Regions from separate parts of the Homo sapiens genome. Here region 2 is linked to region 1. The links are contacts of gene promoters, found by promoter capture Hi-C in human tissues and cell types (Jung and others, 2019). All regions are on one chromosome and are shown on one strand. The core of a region is centred on a gene start or on the middle of the fragment in contact, and the rest is flanking DNA. Distances in the headings are between cores, read along the strand shown.

Region 1 (4,108 bases), core at 103-2,602:
ATTGCCATGTATTTGATTATAGACCAGTAGTATAATCCCCCTGCCCCAGGCCAGATTCCAAAACAATAAACCAAAACACACACACACCTGGCAACAGAAATTATATGTATTCCGAGACTCATTCATTCATTTTGGAAAGGGCCAGTGTTTCCAGTGGTTTCTCCTTGGGATTGTAACTTTACAACTTTAAAACTAGGTAAGTAGTTTTCCCTTGAATCTAAAGTATAACTACTTTGTAGTAGAGAAGTAATTTATCTTAAATCACTATAATGAAGATTTACTCTTAATTTTAACCAAAATGTTTCATTTATTTGTGTAATGAAGATGATCAAAGCAACGCCACCTGTGATCCTTCTGTCTTTTTTACTGTATGTGGCACGTGGCTGTGTGATTTTCCTAGGGAAAGGAGTGGGCTTTCCCTGTGGGTTGAGAACCTCTGTCCCCCTCCTCTGAAGTTTCCCCAGTTTTTCCTGCTTCTCTGCTAGGTGGGTGCCTTAGCATGCTTGTCTTCTCATCGTGCTTCTAAACTTCTCTGAACCGGATTTATACTCTTAGGTCAGTAGCTGTCAAAGAAGACACTAAGTAGTGAAAGTAGCTAATATTTACCAAACCCCTGCTGCGCCCACCTGGTGTTTTATGTGAAGGTCTTCTCTAACCCTTGCTGTAACCTCATGGGGAGCAGATCGTTTTCTCTCAGTTTTTCAGATAAAGAGGAAACTGAGGCTCAGAAAGGTCAGGGACTTTCCAAGCCCTCACAGCTAGTCAGCAGTGGAGCCAGTTCAGACCCAGGCCTGCTGACTCGGAACTGGTACTGATAACTGTCACCACTGTATGCAATGCTGCAGGCAGGGGCTGGCAGGTAGTAAATGTGCAAGATATAGCTGTGGCTGCCACGGCTGCTGCTGCTGCTTTTGTCGCTGTTGTCAGCTTTTCTTGGCAGCCCTGCTGTCTCATACCCCAGTATTGGGGCTGAAGGATTTCTTTTTACCAAAGCTGCCTCTTAGGACAGAAGTCCTTGTCTTGAATGCATACTGGGAAGTCTTCACTCTGTCAAACTTTTCTGTTCTCTGCCTGGTAATTTCCAGACAGAAGAGAACATTCAAAGAACGAACTTACTTTCCTTCTTTTTTTTTATTGAGACAGTCGTGCTTGATTGCCCAGGCTGGAATGCAATGGCACAATCTCAGCTCACTGCAACCTCCGTTTCCCAGGTGCAACCGATTCTCCTGCCTCAGACCTCTGAAGCAGCTGGGACTACAGGTGCCTGCCACCTCACCCGGCTAATTTTTGTATTTTTAGTAGAGATGGGGTTTCACCACATTGGCCGGGGTGGTCTCAAACTCCTGACCTCAAGTGATCCTCCCATCTCGGCCTCCCAAAGTGCTGGGATTACAGGCATGAGCCACCACACCCGGCCCAATGAGCTTTACTTTTCTACATAAGGAAAATAATGGTAGAAATGAAATAGCTGTGAAACTTGTTTTGCTATTTTTGTACCATGCTAAAATGTTAACTACTGCTTATGTCGGCATACACCTGAGAGCTGCTGTGATTTAAGCCTTTTTATTTTTCTGGGTATGATGTAACTCCTCCCCTACCTCATCCAAGTAGATAAGTTCATGGAGGATAAACATGACAGCTGCTGTTTCTTTTATAGCTGGTTCCAGGGAATATCCACTGAATATAGGAAAGATTGTCAGTTGCTGTGTGCTGCCCTGGTGCTGGTGGAGCTTTCAGCCTTCTTCTCAGAGGAAACAATTTAAATGTTTTTGTGAAACCCTAGAGGTCTGGGGTTTGTAGGACAGTCTTGAGCAGAGCAGGCAAAGGTGAAGGGAGTGGAGCCCAGACGTGCTGCCTGGAGGGAAACCTGTCACCTGGAGAGGAAACGGCACAGGGGAGGCCCAGCCGCCCTCGCCTCTCAGTCCCGCACGTCTCTGTTAGTGGTAGTCATGGTTCTTGTATTTCCATCATGTTGAGGCAATTGAAGGAAATATGAAGATTCATTCATCTCAGGAAAAGCAAGAAATGTATTAACAGCAAGAGTAGAAGTTCACTTGCATGGAAGATACTGTATAGCGTATTTATTTCTTAGCGCCAGTGGGAGTAGCTGCTAAGCCCAAGATTGTGTTGTGAGGTTTGAATAGGTCAATGTGTGAGTCATCAATAAAGTAACATCAATCATTTTGTTCCCGATTAATACGTTTGCTATTTTAGGATGCGAAGGACTTTAAAGAAGCTTATTATTCTGAAAAGCAAAGCCTGGAGATTTCCAGTAGCAAAACAGACACAGTCTGTGGACAATCTCAGTGTACAAATAATTCACCTCTGGCATGAACCCAAAGAATTTCAGAGGGGAAGGAAGCTCTTAAAGATTACGTCCCCTCCTACTTCTTTAATGAGGGCTGGGGTTCAAAAACCGAGTAACTTATCCAGGCTCACATAACTGTAGGTGACAGAGCCCAAGCTGGAGGCTGTGGCTGGGTCTTCAGACTCCTTTCTTGACAGTCTGCACCTGCATAAACTCAGACCTTTACTGAGAACAGTGCAGCCATAGCTGAGAGAAGCAGTCGGCACCCAGCATTTCTTGGACTTGTCTGCCAGGTCCCCCGAGTGCAGAGGACAGTGTGCTGGCTCCTGGGGCCTGTGGGCCCGGCCAGGAGCAGCCTTGTAAGCTAAAGCCTTCTTTGAAGGTGGCCGTCTTACCGTAAACTTTCATGGTAATTTCAGTCTACTCCATAATTTGTCTGAGTTAATTTTGATGGAAACATAGTGTTTTAAGTAATCAGTTAGGCTTTGATCTCTAACTTTATGCCATCCAAATCTTCATGATGGCCTGAGCACCAGGCACCCAGACCTGTGCTCTGAATTGTGCCGGGGCTGGTTCATACAGTGTGATGGAGAGACGAGAGATCCACACTGGAGTTCTGAAGCTGTGGTTCTCAACCCTGTCTTTTTACAAGTTCCTTAACTTCCTTACTAGCCTGAAATGAAATGCATAGGTGAGAAAGTCAACCAGCGCACATAATTTCGAGTCAATATAACATTTCCTTAAAAAATAAAATACAGGTAGTTTATAGTAACATAATAAGAATTTTGATATAGAAATACTCAAGACCAAGTACACCAGCAGTTGAATGCAGTGATGAGACCTGCACACACCTGTGCCTGGCGTCACAGGGAGGCTGACACAGGTGTGTTGCACTGAGACCCACACACCACCCCTCATGTTGCTGTCTATGACGTGACATTCTACAAAGTTGACTAACTCTCAGGAAAGTTCTGAACAAAGCCAAGTATCATCATCTTCCTTCAATTTCCATGTCGATTGCATTCCTGGAATAGTTCATGTATATTTGAACTGTGTAAAACATATTTTGAGTTTATATGTAAGTTGCAATCAGTTTGTAAATCCAAAAATTAAAAATAGTGGTTTTTCTTTTCTTTTTTTTTTTTTTCTTTTTTTTTGAGATGGAATTTCGCTCTGTCGCCCAGGCTGGAGTGCAATGGTGAGATCTCGGCTCACTACAACCTCCGCCTCCCGGGTTCAAGTGATTCTCCTGCCTCAGCCTCCTGAGTAGCTGGGATTATAGGCATGCGCCACCATGCCCGGCTAATTTTGTATTTTTAGTAGAGATGGGATTTCACTATGTTGGTCAGACTGGTCTTGAACTCCTGACCTCAGATGATCCGCCTGCCTCGGCCTCCCAAAGTGCTGGGATTACAGGCGTGAGCCACCGCACCCGGCCAAAACAGTGGTTTTTCTATCTTCCTGAGCAGTCAAGGGAAAAGTTCTTCCCATCGCAGGCGTGTCTGAATGCGGGATGGTTGGCCGACCTGGCCCTGCCCCCCCGCCCCAATACCCTTAGCTTCTTCCCAATCTTTTTGACATCCCAGTCCCCCCAACATTTCCAAAATGCCCTCTAAGTCAACACTTCCGCCACTGCCAGCTGCCACCCCAGAGTGCCCTGTGCCTGGTAACGATCGTTCTCACAGTCATGGCCGTAGGGAAGGCTCTTTGTGGTTCCTGGGGGACTTCGTGAGATTGCCCACATGAGCATTTCTTTTGGAACTGAGATACAGTGCACATCGCCTCTGGGGGACATGGGGT
Region 2 (4,240 bases), core at 1,166-3,665, 730 kb after region 1:
TTTGGGGGAGGCCTGAGCCTCCAGGAGGCAACAGGAAGCGACGGGTGATTTTAGGGGTGGGAAAACGGGAGGGAGCCACTGGGACCTGGAGGGGCAAGACAGCCCACTGCACTGGTCCTGTTGCTGCTGTGCTGGGCTGGGATGGCACTGGTAGGCACTGGTAAATCCCTGTTGCTTGTAGGTGATGGGACCCAAGTTGCTTCATCTCTAGCGGTCACTGAGTGTCCCTGTGTTGGTGGGTCTTTTGGGCTCAGAGGACCTGGAAGAAGAGGGACTCTGGAGAGGTGAGGTCAGAGGGGGAGACAGGCTGTAGGGCTGGACAGTCTGGATGTGATCCCAACTCAGCCACCTGTGGGCTATGTGGTTTTGGGCATAGCACCAGGCCCCCAGATCTCAGGGTCCTGAGAAATGGGGGTGATGGTATTGGCAGAGTGGCCAGCAATTGAGTGTCCTTCCCCCTCCAGCACTGCTGGCTCTGTGGACACTGCCCTGCACCATGTGGGCATTTAGGAGGCACGGAGGTGGGCATGTGAGGCCACCTCCCCGCTACAGACCACGTGCGGCCTCAGGTTCTTCTAAGAGGCAGGATCCCAAGGGCAACACGTGGCAGGGAAGGTGGAGGTGCAGGTGCAGGAGGGCCACTCTGCTCAGGGACTCAATACCTTGATGCAAAGGCTACCGACACGCAGAACGCTCACTGTGAGCCCACCGGGACCAGGCAGGCAGAGCAGCGGAGGCCCCCGGAGACGTGGCTCTCACCAGGCTGCACTTTAGAATCACCTGGGTGCTCTGAACCACCCAACACCCAACCCGCACCCCTGACTGACTGCACCGGAACCTCTTTTAAAAAATTCTTTAAAACAATTGTGGTAAAATATATAGAACATAAAACTTAACCTGCTTTAAATGCGCAGTTCAGTACTGTTAATGCACAATTCACATTGCTGTGTGACCCGTCTCCAAAACTTTTTCATCTTCCTCAACTGAAGCTCTGTCCCCATGAAAAACTAACTCCTCATTCCCCACTCCCCCAGCCCTTGGCAACCCCCATTCCGCTCCACCATTTCACTGCTCCAGGGACCTCAAATAATTGGAATCACACAGTACTGTATTTGTCTTTTTGTGGCTGGCTTATCTCACTCAGCATAACGTCTTCAAGGTCATCCGTGTTGTGACGTGTGTCAGGATTCCCTTCCTTTCTAAGGCTGAGTACGAATCCATTGTATGGACGGACAGCATTTCCTTTCTAAGGCTGAGTACGATTCCATTGTATGGATGGACGGCATTTCGTTTATCCATTCATCCATCCAACAACACGTGAGGCGGCTTCAGGCTTCGGAGTTGCTGAAGCTCCGAGTTCGGGATGTGCAGCTGTGGTGGAGCCAGGGGCTGGGCACACCCCTGGCTCCTGGCCTGGCAGCGTCATCATCGGAGTCACCTGTCCCTCATGCCAGTGGTGCTCTCTGCTGTCATCAAGACCAAACACCACTGTAGGAAGTACCCCCACTCCCGCCTCCAACCCCCACAGGGCCTGCCAGGTCTGCCCCCAGTGGGCCCCCTGGTGCATCTGGGCCACCCAGGGCCAGCCTCAGCAGGGGCACTCGCGGGGCTGCGCCTGCGGCTTCCCTTACTCCAGTCTGGAATGTTGTACACACGGATGAGCCAGCAGCTCACGCCCACGACTGCTGGGGTCTCCGGACTCCCTCATCAGCCTCCTGCTGTGCTGTGTACAAATCCTCCTCCTGCATGAGGCCCCGCTGTCTAACTCAGCAGGGGAGAATGGGAGGAGCCAAGGGAATCCGTGCTTTAGGACCAACACCAATACTCATGGTGGGACGACGCTGCGATATTTGAAGTTGGGAGTGTGCAAGAAATGTTACTCGGTTGTTCACGAATGCATTCATTTATTCAATGAACTTCGCGTCAGCCACTGGCTGTCATCAGTTACCGACCTGATTGAGGGCTTCATGGAAGGGATTTGGAGGAGCATTCATCTAAAACCACAGCACGCTGCGACGCTCAGCCCTGCAGTGGGCCCTCACCAGTCCCCGCGCCTCCGAATCCACCCTCCCGGGGCTGCTCGTGGCTAGCGGGGGGCACCTGCGGGGACCAAGCCAGCCCGGCCGAGGCCCGGGTCCCGCCCGCCACGGCCCTCGGGGCCCCGCCCACATCTGGCAGAAGCCACGCCCCGTCCGTGTGGGTGGGGACGGCCCGCCGGACCGAAATTCCCAGACTGCTGCCTCAGGCAACGGGCTTTCCGACTCCTTGGCTTCTTATGTGAGGAAACCACAGCGCGGCCGGCATCCAGAGAGTCGGTTAGCCGCGAAGTTCCCGCCGGACGAAGGGACCAGCCAGCGCCCTGCTAGACAGCGAGGCCGGAAGCGGAGGCGTGGCCCCTGCGCGGCCCCGGAAACCAGTGAGGCCGGCGCGCGCCCGCCGGAAGCCGCGACCCCGACGCGCCCCCCATTGCCCTCGGCGCCGGAAGTGGTCGCGGGTCGTTCTGCTTCCTGCCCGAGGGGCGTGCGCGGGTCAGGGGCGGCCGCGGAGGCGGAAGCATCCATGGCGGAGGGCGGCAGCCCAGACGGGCGGGCAGGGCCGGGCTCCGCAGGTAACGTGCGCGCGGCCACTGGGCCGCGGGGCGTGTGGGGATGGCGAAGGGCTGGCTCCGGCGTCCCTGCCGAGGTCCTGCGTCCTCGTCCCGGGCTGGCCGGGTCCACGGGGCAGCCAGGGAGCCGCACCCTGCAGGCCGGGGGTGGGGTTCAGCGCGGCTCGCAGTGCTGGGCGACCCCACCACGGACGCGCTGCCCTCTCCTCGGCCTCGAGTGCAGTCCCCGCGCTAGATTTTCTTTCCGGTGGAACTTGCTCGTAACTTCCTTCCCGTTAGCCGATACAGATTTGATATGACCCAACCGCAAAAGTAGGACGTGGGCCACCTTCCAGCTCTGAGCGCACGGATCAGGAAAGCCAGCCAGAGGGTAGCCCTAGGGAGGGCAGGCACTTTTTCACCATTCTGCCGCCCACGGCGTGTCCGGTGGTACAGCGGGGGGCAGCCTTCCCACCCACCACAGGCACAGACCAGGGACAACGGGGACGCCGTCTCCAGCGAGCTCGTCAGTGACACAACATGTCCAGGGGCCTTTGGCCCACCAGCAAGGGAGGCAGATAGAAAGGCTCACACCCACCTTCCAAAATAACTGTCCTACTTAGGGTCTCCACCTTGCAGTGTCCCTACCATGCAGATGTGAAGGAAGCGGTCAGGACAGGTTCCCGTTTCCCGGTGGTGTGGTGGGAGTTCCTTCTTGCTGGATTTCTGAGCTTGCCATTCGCGCCAATAGTTTCGTGTGTTCTGGGCTTTCTTTACATGCCTATATTTGTCTTTGGAGGGGTTCCTCTCCTACTTAGTAATAAACCAATACATTTCTTAAACATCTTAAAAGATTGACTTGGAGACTGGTGCAGATAGGCTTTTCCATCCATCCCTCCCTCTGCACCTCCTTCCAATCATTTAACAGACTTGTATTGAAGACCTGCTGTTGGCTAGACCCAGCAGAGGATACTGCAGTGACCAGAAAAAGCCAGACAAAGCATCTACCATCCTGGGCTTTGGTTGGCGTTGACTTTGACTTCAGAGACAGCCAGGACCTTAGGGTCTAGGATGTCATCTCATGTGAGAGTGAGAGACGGAATGATGCGTGTTCCGTGGGAAAAAGAGGACCAACAGCTACTTCCCAGTATAAAGAGAGTTCCTGGGGAATAAACACTGGCTTTGTCGGCTGCACAGGTCTCCTTTTTTTTTGAGACGGAGTTTCGCTCTTGTTGCCCAGGGTGGAGTGCAGTGGCGTGATCTCGGCCCACTGCAGCCTCCGCCTCGGGGGTTCAAGCGATGCTCTGGCCTCAGCCTCCCTAGTAGCTGGGATTACAGGTGCTGGCATCATGCCCGGCTAATTTTTGTATTTTAGTAGAGACGGGGCTTCACCATATTGGCATATTGGCCAGGCTGATAGCGAACTCTAGACCTCAGGTGATCTGCCCGCCTCTGCCTCCCAAAGTGCTGGGATTACAGGCGGCAGCCACCACACTCAGCTGAGGGCTCCTTTTTATATCCTCATGCACTGCTGTTTTGTTATTCAGTGTGTTTCGGCCTCGGGTAGAGGGGCAACAGATTTTCAGTTGAAGCTTAAGTGCTATCCTGGGGCAGTTGTGTTGTCATTGGAGTAGTTGATCAGCGAAACACAAACTT

The links. Contacts are between HindIII fragments. The study calls those that stand out against the background at their distance.
Region 2: a contact is called between the fragment with the promoter of ASB1 here and a fragment that was not itself captured in region 1, in 1 of the 25 tissues and cell types used here (lymphoblastoid cells).

What each region holds. Positions count from the first base shown.
Region 1 is chr2:237,695,906-237,700,013 of GRCh38, forward strand. The region is part of intron 1 of LRRFIP1 (LRR binding FLII interacting protein 1); the gene reads left to right. Among named protein-coding and RNA genes, the nearest start is that of LRRFIP1, 70 kb to the left of the region's middle. RefSeq lists an enhancer at 1,179-1,388 and a silencer at 2,452-2,501. The HindIII fragment of the contact is 4,703 bases long and covers 1-3,704 here.
Region 2 is chr2:238,424,512-238,428,751 of GRCh38, forward strand. ASB1 (ankyrin repeat and SOCS box containing 1) reads left to right here and starts at 2,416. Exons shown (of 5, transcript NM_001040445.3): 1 at 2,416-2,608. The coding sequence starts at 2,560. LOC124908002 (a long non-coding RNA gene) reads right to left here and starts at 2,383. Exons shown (of 2, transcript XR_007088163.1): 1 at 1-2,383. RefSeq lists enhancers at 997-1,532, 3,045-3,164 and silencers at 1,865-2,254, 2,275-2,794. The HindIII fragment of the contact is 10,702 bases long and covers 1-4,240 here.